2 separate regions of the Homo sapiens genome follow, and region 2 is linked to region 1. The links are contacts of gene promoters, found by promoter capture Hi-C in blood cells and fetal thymus (Javierre and others, 2016). All regions are on one chromosome and are shown on one strand. Each heading gives the region's core, a stretch centred on a gene start or on the middle of the fragment in contact. The rest is flanking DNA. Distances are from core to core; before and after follow the strand shown. Region 1 holds the start of CDKN2AIP (CDKN2A interacting protein). Region 2 holds the start of CCDC110 (coiled-coil domain containing 110).

Region 1 (6,328 bases), core at 1,442-3,941:
GGCACTTCACCATTCAACTCTTTCTTGGGAACCTTTTGGATCTCCTCTAGGCCCTGTGAGATATATGTGCGTAAATGCGTGTGTGTGTGTTATGTATATATACACACACACATATGTATATATATATACACACGTGTGTTAGGAGCAGAGGAGGGAGTTGTATAGTTGGTTATCAAAGCTATAAAAGGCCCTTTCTATGTTCATTTCTAAAGGCCAACGCATACAGGCTCAGGGCACGATTGGGCTGTCTTCTCTCAGAAACTCGGGCAGAGCCAAGTCCTTCTGCTCTTAGACCCAAAATCTACCTAGCAATTTCTAACAGCCAACACTTCCCACCCTGCATCTTATTCCCTACTCCCATAGACTTTCCTAGTTATCACCTAAATTCTCCTCTCACCTTTTCTCTCAGAACGTCTCCCCCAGCTTAGAGAGGAATTTGTCTCTGTAGGTGGGAGGGTCTTTAAAAAAAAATGAGGCCGGGCACAGCGACTCATGCCTATAATCCCAGCACTTTGAGAGGCCGAGGCAGAAGAATTGCTTGATATTAGGAGTTCAAAACCAGCCTGGACAACAGTGAAACCTTGTTTCTACAAAAAAATAAAAAATTAGCCTGTCGTCGTGGTACCCGCCTGCAGTCCCAGCTACTTGTGGTTCATAGTCTTTGAATCTTTATATGCAAAGTCAACTTTTTAAGAATCAAAAAAGAAAAATGCATGTATCTTTTATTCCAAGCACCTGGTTTTTGCACAAGTACTCCATCTTTCAGACTCTATCGCTTTTATTATAATTAAAAAAATTGTTTGAAATTCAGGCTCTACTTGTTCTCCTTTCAAGGCAATGAAGCCCATGAGTGGGAAGAAGACTACAGGGCAACAAGAAAAAAAGTGAGAACATTATTATTATTATTTTTTGAGATGAAGTCTCACTCTGTCACCCAGGCTGGAGTGCAATGGCTTGGTCTCGGCTCACTGCAACCTCTGCCTCCTGAGTTCAAGCGATTCTCCCGCCTCGGCCTACAGAGTAGCTGGGACTACAGGCACGTGCCACCACACTTGGCTAACTTTTGTATTTTTAGTAGAGATGGGGTTTCACTACATTGGCCAGGCTGGTCTCGAACTCCTGACCTCATGATTCGTCCGCCTCGGCCTCCCAAGGTGCTGGGATTACAGGCGTGAGCCACTGCACCTGGCCGTGAGAACATTCTTGATTTAAAATGCACATATATAATCTAGGTATGCGATCATAGCTTCTTTTACTTGCCATGGTCCCCTTGCCAAAGAATTCATGAAAGGAGAAATCGTAATTTCTCCACCTTTTAAATAGCCAGATTTCTGCAATCCGTCCACCCCCTCTAGATTTTCAGCAATTATCTGTGAAAAGGAGGAAAGAACAGCAAACTAGAAGCAAAATCACAAAGCTTCAAAATTTCTTTGTGCCTCCGTTTTTATGTAGTTTCTTTTGGTATGGCAGGAAAATGGGCAATATTGTTTTCATACAATAGCTGTATTTTGTTCCAGCATGCACATAAATTACACAGTTAACCTTATCTGATCTTACCTAAAGTGACCTTTTTTTGCTTGCTTATTCTGATTCATGCATTTTTACATCAAAGTCTACATTTATTGAAAGAAAAATTTCATAATTTATATCATTTAACGTATTTATCTTACAGTGCATGTATACCTGGAATGGGAAACGTAACAATAAGCCAGCCAGCAGTTAGAGTACGTAACTGTGGGAAATGTAAAGTGGAAAAAAATATATAGAAGGAAAAAACAGCTCTAACAGGGAGAGAGGTTTGGGGCCCTATAGATAAATAGGTACATTTCCACTCCACCTCCGGACATCTGCCGGTTGGTGGTAAAGCTGTTGATTTTAGGAAATTCTAGAGACAGAGCGTTGTCGGGGTGTTGTTTTCCTACTGACCAGAACAGGAAGGCAATGCCTGGATTAACTAGAGACCTAATAAACTGCGGGAACAAGCCCTACCGCTGCGGGGCCAGGGCCAGCTTCGAAGGCTGCAAGCCTCACGGCAACACGGAGCCAGGTCCTCGTGTGACCTTACTGTCTACTGCTGCTATGTAAGGGGACTGGCACTCCCGCCCTCCTGAAGGCGCGGAGACCCCGACGGCCTCGGAACGCTTCGCTCGGGCACACTGAAAGCAGCGCGAGACGCAGCTCCCAACACTCTAACATGGAGGCCGGCTTTTGTTTGTTTTGGCCCCGCTCACACACAGGCGTCTCAGGGCGGAGACCACAGGCCCCGCGGCTGCGGGCGGCTCAAGGTCCCCCGGGACGCCCCCCTAGCGGACTTTGGCCGCCGCGCCCGGCTGCCTCCCTTGCCCGGGCCCTGCCCCTCTCGCCTCTGCTCCCGGCGCCGCAGCTGACCCGGCGGGGGAGGAGGACGGCAGGAGCGCGCGGCGTCACAAAGCGAGGACAGAACGCCCGGGGTTCCGCCGAGACTCGGTCGTCCCAGGCCAGCTCGACTTGCAGTCCGCCCTCGTGGGGCGGGAGACGCCCGACGCCCGCCCACCTCACCCCCGGGGTGCCCTCCGTGGCCTCACGGGGACGCAGCGTCGCAGCGGCCCCGGCGCCGCAAAGCGTCTTGGGAGCGCCGGCTCGCGCCGGAAGAACGCGAGGGCGCGCGGCGGCGGCGAGGTTATAAAAGGGAAGAAGCCGGCGGTGGGCGGAAGTGGGCGGTTCGGCGGCTCTGGGCGCTGTTGTTTGGTCTTTAGGCCTGCGGAGGGGCGTTATCTGGAGGGCCGCGGGTGCAGGCCGCAGTGACAGGGCCGCTCGCCCCGCTAGTCCTGCCTGTCTCCCGGTGCAGCTGTGTTCGCGGCCTGCAGGCCCAACATGGCGCAGGAGGTGTCGGAGTACCTGAGCCAGAACCCGCGGGTGGCAGCCTGGGTGGAGGCGCTGCGCTGCGACGGCGAGACTGACAAACACTGGCGCCACCGCCGGGATTTTTTGCTTCGCAACGCCGGGGACCTGGCCCCCGCTGGCGGCGCTGCCTCCGCTAGCACGGATGAAGCTGCCGACGCCGAGAGCGGGACCCGAAACCGGCAGCTGCAGCAGCTCATCTCCTTTTCCATGGCCTGGGCGAACCACGTCTTCCTCGGGTGCCGGTGAGTGAGGCAGCGTCCCTAACCAGCACGCCTCGTTTTGTGTGCCACCTGCAGACCGGGGCCCGGCGCCCTCCGCGGGACCGGCCTCGGCGGGGAGGGGAAGTTGTGAAGCGCGGGAATCCGCCGGCCCGGCTGCCCTCTAAGGGGGAGAAGGGCGTCCCTGCGAGGAGCCGACATGATTCCCGGACGTCTGTGTGCCCGGTGGTGTGGGCGCAGCTGCTGGTAGGGTTGCTTGTGTTAGGGAACAACGCTCTTGGGGACGGGTGCGAGATTTAAGATTAGTGAGGAGGTGCCCTGCCTCCCAGACCCTGGGGCACTTGTTTATGGGGTTCCAGGAAACAGTTCTTGGCGGTTGGTTCACTTTCTTGATTGCAGCCAGGAAATGCAGTCCCTGTGGCCTGTTTTTTGCACAAGTAGGACCTTAGAAAAAACACTTTTTAAAAATGACTTTTCCTTCTTTTTCAGATACCCTCAAAAAGTTATGGATAAAATACTTAGTATGGCTGAAGGCATCAAAGTGACAGATGCTCCAACCTATACAACAAGAGATGAACTGGTTGCCAAGGTGAAGAAAAGAGGGATATCGAGTAGCAATGGTTAGCAGATCATAGATGTGAACATACATAGGAGTTTAGAGCATAAGTTTGATATAATTAGGAATTATTGTTACTAATTTTTTTAACAAGCCAGAATTTTTATGTTATTAATAAGTAATAAAGTTGGAATGTTAAACCTAAAGTATATATCTGTGTCTTTAGGCTTTGAATTTGATAGTTTGCTTTGACTGCTTTAGATTTTGAAGTGTCCACTGTTGTCTGATGCTGTTATTTTTTTAATATTAGACATTCATGATGTTATTCAACACTGTTTTAAGAAATTAATGACTCCACACTTTTTAAAGAAACGATTAGTCTTGAAATGTTTTCACTTTGTGCCTTTATTTTAATGTGTATTTGTCTCATCACCCGTTTTGTACGAGGTATTCTTAGTCACATATCTATGTTTTTCTTCTTTTTAGAAGGGGTAGAAGAGCCATCCAAAAAACGAGTTATAGAAGGAAAAAACAGTTCTGCAGTTGAGCAAGATCACGCAAAAACCTCTGCCAAGACAGAACGTGCATCAGCTCAGCAGGAAAACAGTTCAACGTGTATAGGGTCGGCCATCAAATCAGAGAGTGGGAACTCAGCTCGGAGCTCTGGCATCTCCAGTCAGAATAGCTCTACAAGTGATGGAGATCGATCTGTTTCCAGCCAAAGCAGCAGCAGCGTTTCCTCTCAGGTAACAACGGCAGGATCTGGGAAAGCTTCTGAAGCAGAAGCTCCAGATAAACACGGTTCTGCATCATTTGTTTCCTTGCTGAAATCCAGTGTGAATAGTCACATGACCCAATCCACTGATTCTAGACAACAAAGTGGATCACCTAAAAAGAGTGCTTTGGAAGGCTCTTCAGCCTCAGCTTCTCAAAGCAGCTCAGAGATCGAGGTGCCCTTGTTGGGCTCCTCAGGAAGCTCAGAGGTAGAATTGCCACTATTGTCTTCCAAACCTAGTTCAGAGACAGCTTCAAGTGGGTTAACTTCCAAAACTAGTTCAGAGGCAAGTGTTTCATCATCAGTTGCTAAAAACAGTTCCTCATCAGGCACATCCTTACTGACTCCCAAGAGCAGCTCTTCAACAAATACATCGCTGCTAACTTCCAAGAGCACTTCCCAGGTAGCTGCATCACTACTAGCTTCCAAGAGCAGCTCCCAGACCAGTGGATCTCTGGTTTCCAAAAGCACTTCCTTAGCAAGTGTGTCCCAGTTGGCTTCTAAGAGTAGTTCTCAGACTAGCACCTCACAGTTGCCTTCTAAAAGTACTTCACAGTCAAGTGAGAGTTCTGTCAAATTCTCTTGCAAGTTAACCAATGAAGATGTGAAACAGAAGCAACCTTTTTTCAATAGACTATATAAAACGGTGGCATGGAAGTTGGTAGCTGTTGGTGGCTTTAGTCCCAATGTGAATCATGGAGAGCTCCTAAATGCAGCTATTGAGGCTCTGAAAGCAACACTGGATGTATTTTTTGTCCCACTAAAAGAATTGGCAGATCTGCCTCAAAATAAGAGCTCTCAAGAAAGTATTGTTTGTGAATTGAGGTGCAAGTCTGTGTATTTGGGCACTGGCTGTGGAAAAAGCAAAGAAAATGCAAAAGCAGTTGCATCAAGAGAAGCATTGAAGTTATTTCTCAAGAAAAAGGTGGTGGTAAAAATATGTAAAAGGAAATACAGAGGCAGTGAAATAGAAGATCTAGTACTCCTTGATGAAGAATCGAGGCCTGTAAACTTACCTCCAGCACTAAAACATCCTCAAGAATTACTATAATGTGTCCAAAATATCACTGCATACAATATCTGGTATTTGAAGAGAAAAACTGACTTTTGTATAGTATAAAACACAGGCTTTCACAAATTTTGTATTGCTTTTTTTCCAGTTTTGCAGAAAATTTACATTCTAGTTCTCTTCACACAGTAGCAGTTGTAAATAATTTATGAATGACAGTACACATTAAAAGGTATGCATTAGCAGCATATTAGTATGCTGTTTTATTTGCTGAAGAAAATACTGTCTTCTATTTTTAATGATACATTAGGTACGATGTGTAGTTCGGTAGAGTCCTAAAATTTTTGTACTACTTTCAATTTGGTGAAAATGTATTAAGTTGTCTACCATGTTTTCTTTTCTAGCTGAATAAACCACATCAAAGGAAAGGGACCACAGTATTTGAATGTTTGAAAGTCTGTAAAGCTTAAGGTTTTAAAAATGTTGCCCGTAATGTTGAACGTGTCTGTTAAAAAATAAAAGAAAAAATAGTTGCTTCAAACTATTTTTATGAGAAGTTGTAAGCATTTTTTAGATATAAAGCAGTATAAAGTACTTGTTATTTTACTCTGAAGTTGTTTAAAATTCACCATGACTTTGACCGCTGAAGATTCTTTAAGCGGGTTAATTTATGTTTTGAGGTGGAATACAATTTACACTTTTTTCTTAAAAACATGAATGTGGGTTTCTATATTAAGCATATTTTGTGACTACTATTAACAGATTGATTTGTTTAGATATTAAATGCTTTAAGCTATTTTACCTTTTCAAGAAGTTGTGTTTTTTTTCTCCAAGTCAGAACCAATTCCTGCAAATAGGCTTCCCATGACTTGTCATTATAAATTAGA
Region 2 (6,328 bases), core at 1,994-4,493, 2.0 Mb after region 1:
TACAAAGCCCTGTCCTGGTTCCTCCCGCCTACCCTTCCCTACTTGTTCTGCTCCATTTACAAGAGCAACCGTTCCTCAATCACACCAGCCACGCTCCCACCACAGGGTCTTTGCAGTTGCCATTCTCTCTGCCTGCGGTGCTCTTTCCCTAGAAATCTGCACAGATTGCTTCTTTACTTCCTTCTGGTCTTGGCTCAGACGTGACCTGCTGAGTGAGCCCTTCTCCTACCACCCTGTTTAAAATGACACACTTCCCACCCACCTCTGCCACTCCAAATATTCCTCCCCCCCTTCTCAGCCTTATGTTCTCCATAGAATTTATTCCCCGCTTACACACAATAGCCTTTGTCTGTCTGTTCCCTCACTAGAAGGTAAGCTCCATGTGGGCAGGGAATCTTGCAAGTCTTGTTCACTGTTGGATCCCCAGCACCTAGAACAGCACTTGAAACTTAGCAGGTGCTCAAAAGAATATGCTCCACAAACGAATGAATGAATGAAAGCTCGGGTACAACAGGGTGCTGGGAACAACACCCTGGACACCCTCAAATTCAAAAGTCTCTCACAAACCCATTCCAATAAGGGTTAATTAGGTTAACCACTAGTTCTGAAATCAGAGACACCTTGGGAACATTCTATAACTCTTTGTAACCTGGCAGTAGTTATGCAAATCAGGTCATTATTTTCTCAGTACACGGGGAATGGATCACTTGGTGACAATGAAAGCATCAGTAGGAGAGTAGAGAGAAGGGCGCCAGCCATACCTCCTAGTTTTGCCTATAGTTGCAGGCAGGAAATTCCTGGGTGGCCCCTGACTCAAGATAACTGGTGTTTATTAAGAACCTGTCCTGTGTCAACCCCAGACCTGTAAACACTGTGTTCTGGCAAGAAAGACTGTAACTCTTAAACATGTACATGTGCTATTTTGCATGTAACTATTTTCTATAAATGTTGGCATCTTTCTCCAGAACCCTAAGCCTCATTCATGTCAAAAAACATGTGATCTTGCCAAATTAAGGTACTTCTATTTCTTCTGACCTTACATGCTCTCTTTGAGGTAAATACGGAGCTACCTCAATGTCTCAACTCTCTGTGAGGACTCTTTCTCCTTCGTTCAGGGGGCCCCTTTGCCCCTCCTGGTTGCCCAGGGAAACCTGCATATCTCAAGGGTGGAGGCAGGAGGGCGGAGAGGGGACTGGCCAGTGCCTGTCCTGCTGGCCTCCACTGGGGTGTTGCTCATCCTGGTAGTGCCTGGGCACCCGGGTGTCTTCTGTCTACTGAGGTGTGGCTGCTCTAGTCTCTTCTTTCCGGGCCCTGACAAGGCTTTTTGTGAAGATCTTGCATGGTGGAGGTGCAGAAATCCTGTCCCAACCTCAGTCCTCTTGTGGTTCAGCACTTTGGCATCAGGATTGCCCATATCCTACAGAGGGGCAACTGGGGGTCCGGGCATGGCACATCAGTCTAGACCCTTCTCCTGCCCCGTGCTCTGCTCCTTCCCCGGCATGTCCCCTCACAGCAGGCTCCTCTGAGAGGCGTGTAGTCAGTCGCCTGGGACTCCACCTTCAATGTCCTCAGATTCCCCTAGCTGGGTACCCCCATCTTATTCATAATTTATGTGGTGCTTGAAAGCTTTAGCTATGTGGCTATTTCAAACATCCTCCCCATATAATATCCTGTAGTCCGTAAATATTTACTATAAAAAGTAGTTTTCTTTAGAAAAGGTATACACCCCTCCCTGGATATCCACAGGGGATTGGTTCCAGAGCCTCTGCGGATAGCAAAATCTGCAGATGCCCAAGTCCCTAATACAAAATGGGGTAGTATTTGCATAGCTTCTATGTGTATCCTGCTGTATACTTTAAATCATCTCTCGATTACTTGTAATACCTTATACAATGTAAATGCTATGTAAATGGCTGTTATACTGTTCAAAATTTGCATTTAAAAATTGTGGTACTGTTATTTTTAAAAATTTTCCCCCCTGAATATTTTCCATCTGTGGTTGGTTGAATCCAAGGATGCGGAACTCCCAGATACCGAGGGCTGACTGCATATCGTTTTAGTGTGTGTCCAAAAAACTCAACAATTCTTACTTAGCATTCAGAGAAGCAACGGAGCGTAGCGTGGTGGTGAAGACAGGCAGTCCGGAGCCGCCCTGCTGAATGCCCGCTCCATTCCTCGCTGCCTGTGTGACCTTAGGGAGTTAACCTCTCTGTGCCCGTTTCCTTATCTGCAAAATGGGGATCGTGGTAGCACCCACCTCGTAAAAGTGTTGTGAGAATTAAACAGTTGATCCATTACGTGCTTAGAACAGCACTGGCACAAAGCGCGAGTGCCGTGGTGGCTGCTGTCCGTGTCATCACGGCCGTGGGAAGCACGCCAGGTGAGCAGGTGGCACAGGCCAGATGCTGCCGCCTGTGTATAGTTAAAGGAGCCTTTTACGGTCTGGCGATTTTACCTGTGTCACTGCAGCCACTTTCCTTCACCCCCTCCGAAGAATTTAGGATCTTGGACGCTGAAAGGAGAACGGAGTCAACTTCATCCTCTTCCCGGTGCTGCTTTTCTGTAACAGAACCGTCCGGGGCTGTTCTGTCGCGGGTCGTGGCGTGGCGGGGCTGAAGGTGGGGGCGGGGCAGAGGGATGGGGCGGGGCAGGGCTAACGGCTGGGGCGGGGCGGAGGGAATTAGGAGGGGGCGGGGCTGAAGGCTGGGGCGGGGGGGCGGGGAGGGCGGGGAGGGCGGGGCGGAGGGAATTAGGAGGGGGCGGGTTTGAAGGCTGGGGCGGGGCGCAGGGATGGGATGGGGCGGAGAGACTGGGCGGGACCTGTGGGGGCAGAGGAATGGGGCGGGGTCAAGGCTGAAGGCTGGGGCGGGGCGGAGGGATGGGGCGGAGGGACGGCATCAGGCCGGGCCTGGGGCGGGGCGCGGCGCTTTCCGCAAGCGGCCACCCGAGGGCGCGCTGGGCGGGCGGCGGCGGCAGACCACGTAGCCAGCCTGTAAGCCACAGCGGACGCAGGGGGCCGCAGCGGGTGCTCAGCCCTAGGGCCGAGCGGGAGATGTGCGGCGAGTGCAGAAGGGCGGACCCGGGATGTCCCGGGTTTTCGAGCGGGGAGCCGCCTGCTGAATGCCCTTCTGCTGCCCTCCGTTCCCGCGGCTCCCCTAGGAGCCCCGCCCCGTCCAACTCTTACCCGGGCTCATCGCCGCGGCTCATCTCTCTCGCAACCGCCGCCGCACGCACCCGCTCCGCCGCCCCGCGCAGGGCATCCTGTCGCCAGGTAACCGGGTGGCCGGGGCGCCGGCCCCACCCCCACCCTCGGCGGCGCGCGCTCGGCTGGGGTCCCTGGTGGGGTCCCGGTGGGTCCCTCCTCACTCCGGACGCTTCCCCGAGAGCTTCCCTGGGAACCTGGCCTGGGACAGCCCACCTGGGCGCCTCCCCGCACACGCGCGCGGCTGTCCGGGACGGGCTTGCTCACACTCGGACTCGCTGCGGTACCCGCCGGACCAAAGCGGTGCGGAGAAAGGGACCGCCCGGGGACGGACACACGCCTGAGAGCTTTCCCTTTGCCTTTCCACATCTCCACTTCATCGCTGTTGTTTTTTTTTTTTAATTCTTAGTCCTCTCATTTCAGCGCATCCCTCAGAGGAGTTTCAGCATTTGGGGATTTGAACGGCCCATGACCAATATTGTGAAAGGACTTTTGTTTGCTGCAATGAAAAGAAGACTCCTATTTTTCAATAATGAATTAACCTAAACATGTATTAAAATATGCTCATGAAAGCTGTGGGAAGCGACGGTGGGCTTCCTTTGTCTAAGCATGTTAATTTTTACGCACCTGGTGTATCACGTGCAGGATTGATGTTGCGTTCACGGGAAACCTGACCTCCTTTAACCAAGGACTGGGTGCGTGCCCCCAGCTAATCCTCCTGCCCATCAGAAAATGGTGCTCTTTAAAGTTTTAAACGAGTATATATTATTTATTTTGTAGTAAACCATCACACATAGAAAATTAAAATTCAAAATCACAATCACCAGGATATCATAATTTGCTATATAATAACATATAATATATAATAAGTAATACATGATGGCTTGCTTTCATTGAAATGAAACTTCTTATGATAGTTTCAGTGCTTACTTCCTCTAATTTGTTTCTTATAGAAATGGGCTCTAGTGCACGCGCCTGTAATCTCAGCTACTCAGGAGGCTGAGGCAGGAGAATCGCTTGAACCCAGGAGGCGGAGGTTGCAGTGAGCCGAGATGGCGCCACTGTGCTCCAGCCTGGGCAACAGAGCCAGACTCCGTCTCAAAAAAACAAAAAAAAACAAACAAAAAAAAAAAAAAGAAAAGAAATGGGCTCTAGGTCCGGCATGATGGCTCACACCTGTAATCCCAGCACTTTGGGAGGCCGAGGCGGGTGGATCACCTGAGGTCAGGAGTCCGAGACCAGCCTGACCAACATGGTGAAACCTTGTCTCTACTAAAAATACCAAAATTAGCCAGGTATGGTGGAGTACATTCGTAATCCCAGCTACTCGGGAGGCTGAGGCAGGAGAATCACTTGAACCCAGGAGGCAGAGGCTGCAGTGAGTCGACATAGTGCAACTGCACTCCAGCCTGGGCCACAGAGCGACACTCTGTCTCAAAAAAAAAAAAAAAAAAAAGAAAGAAAGAAAGAAAAAAATGGGCTCTAGAAGATTTGACTTTCTTGTGGCATTGTAGACAATTTTAATAAATTATAATTTTGAGAATTTATGGTCTGCATTGCTGATTGATATTGATGATTCAGGAGATAGAAATTATTTAGGCAGATAGGGCAAAAGAGTCTTCAGCAGAACTTCTAACAAAAAACAGCTCAAGAAATCATTTTTTTTTCTAACAAAGAGCAGCCTGAAAGCCTGCAAACCTTGCAAAGATAGATCAGGAAGCTGGAAGCGTGCACACCAGGGCGCAGGGGGTTGGGGGGCAGCGTGCGGGTGGATGCCAGCAGCTGCGCTGATAGAAAAGGGCTACCTGGGGGCCAGGCATGTCCACCATGGAATCTCCATCTCCCCTTTTTTGTTAGCACGTGTACAGTAAGAAAGAGATGGGCGATATGGAAAAGCTCAGTCAGAGAACCCACCTGCGTAGTAAAAGATTGGGGTGGGGGCTGCCAGAGATTCATGCCCTATGCAGATGGCACACCTGGTCCTAACTGGTTTTTCACGCCCTATGTAGATCAGACTGCCTCCCCATTAGCTCATCTATAAAATTCTATAAAAAATATTTCACAGCGAATTGGCAACCCGGGGACCCCTTTCTGTAGCGGAGAGCTTATTCCCTTTCTTGTCGCCTATTACATTTCGGCTCTTAACCTCACTCTTTGTGTGTCTGCATCCTTGATCTCCCTGTGAGACAGCAAACCTTGGTGTCAGCCCACACAATGAGGCTGCTTCATTGATAAAGTTAATTTTTTTCCTGAGAGCTACACAAGTTTTCAGCAATATGTTTGTGAAATTACTACTGTAAATAAATTGCATTCCTTCAAAGGGTGAATGACAAAAAGCCACTACATTTTAGCAAGTCTGTTTTTATACTACTGAAGTTTCCACAATTAATTACTATATTGTATTTTATGTAATGCTAATTATTAATATCTAATCATTTGATAATTTATGTAATAATGTGTAATAACTCTAATTTGTCTATGTAATATTTGTGGACTATGATGACAAATTAATATCGGTTATTACATAGAAATTACTTGTGGATTTTTGTGGGAGCACTCAGTCATACCATTTAGTGTAGAATATAAAAAGCAGGTGATAGATGCTACAACATCAAACTCAGATTTAGCCAGTGCACTAATCTCAATAGAGAGTTACTTCCATTTTAAGCTACTTCCTAATCCATTCATCAGTCAGAAAAGCAGCTCTTTAGTTAGAAGGACACTTTATTTTAGATGTCCTATAAGGCCTTTTGATTATCACACTCATTTCTCTTTTGTAAAGCACATCACATATATATTCTCAGTTAAAACAAAAATTTTGTCAGAAAATTATTGCAATTAATATGTAAAAAGGCTGTCTTTGGAGCCAACAGTTATAATATTTTAAAAACTGTTTTCAATAATAAAGATGCCTATGATTTGAATATCACCCTCTCAGATGAACCCCCTCGTGAAGGGCCTCACATGAACATTGCGTGCGCCAACCCTGGTATTCGAGGTGGGAGAATCTGGAAGTGGTAATTAGAGCATTGACATGTCTCTAAAAAAATGGGGGTGGGAGGTGGTCACAGCCCTTTAGGGACATTCACTGCAGTGTGAAATGTATGTTGAGGGAGAAATCTTATT

What was found. The method cuts DNA at HindIII sites, captures the fragments that hold promoters and counts their contacts. A CHiCAGO score of 5 or more calls a contact.
Region 2: a contact is called between the fragment with the promoter of CCDC110 here and the fragment with the promoter of CDKN2AIP in region 1, in 7 of 17 cell types (total B cells, non-activated CD4 T cells, activated CD4 T cells and 4 more). The highest score is 8.8, in total B cells.

The regions. Positions count from the first base shown.
Region 1 is chr4:183,441,945-183,448,272 of GRCh38, forward strand. It overlaps CDKN2AIP (CDKN2A interacting protein), which reads left to right and starts at 2,692. Exons shown (of 3, transcript NM_017632.4): 1 at 2,692-3,125; 2 at 3,591-3,721; 3 at 4,144-6,328. The coding sequence starts at 2,854. The coding sequence ends at 5,483. RefSeq lists a silencer at 2,167-2,716 and an enhancer at 2,997-3,146. The HindIII fragment of the contact is 3,011 bases long and covers 1,416-4,426 here.
Region 2 is chr4:185,468,490-185,474,817 of GRCh38, forward strand. It overlaps CCDC110 (coiled-coil domain containing 110), which reads right to left and starts at 3,244. Exons shown (of 7, transcript NM_152775.4): 1 at 3,185-3,244; 2 at 2,456-2,560. The coding sequence starts at 3,194. It overlaps LOC105377590 (a long non-coding RNA gene), which reads left to right and starts at 2,942. Exons shown (of 2, transcript NR_133944.1): 1 at 2,942-3,271; 2 at 3,626-3,774. RefSeq lists a silencer at 2,829-3,458. The HindIII fragment of the contact is 5,122 bases long and covers 1,625-6,328 here.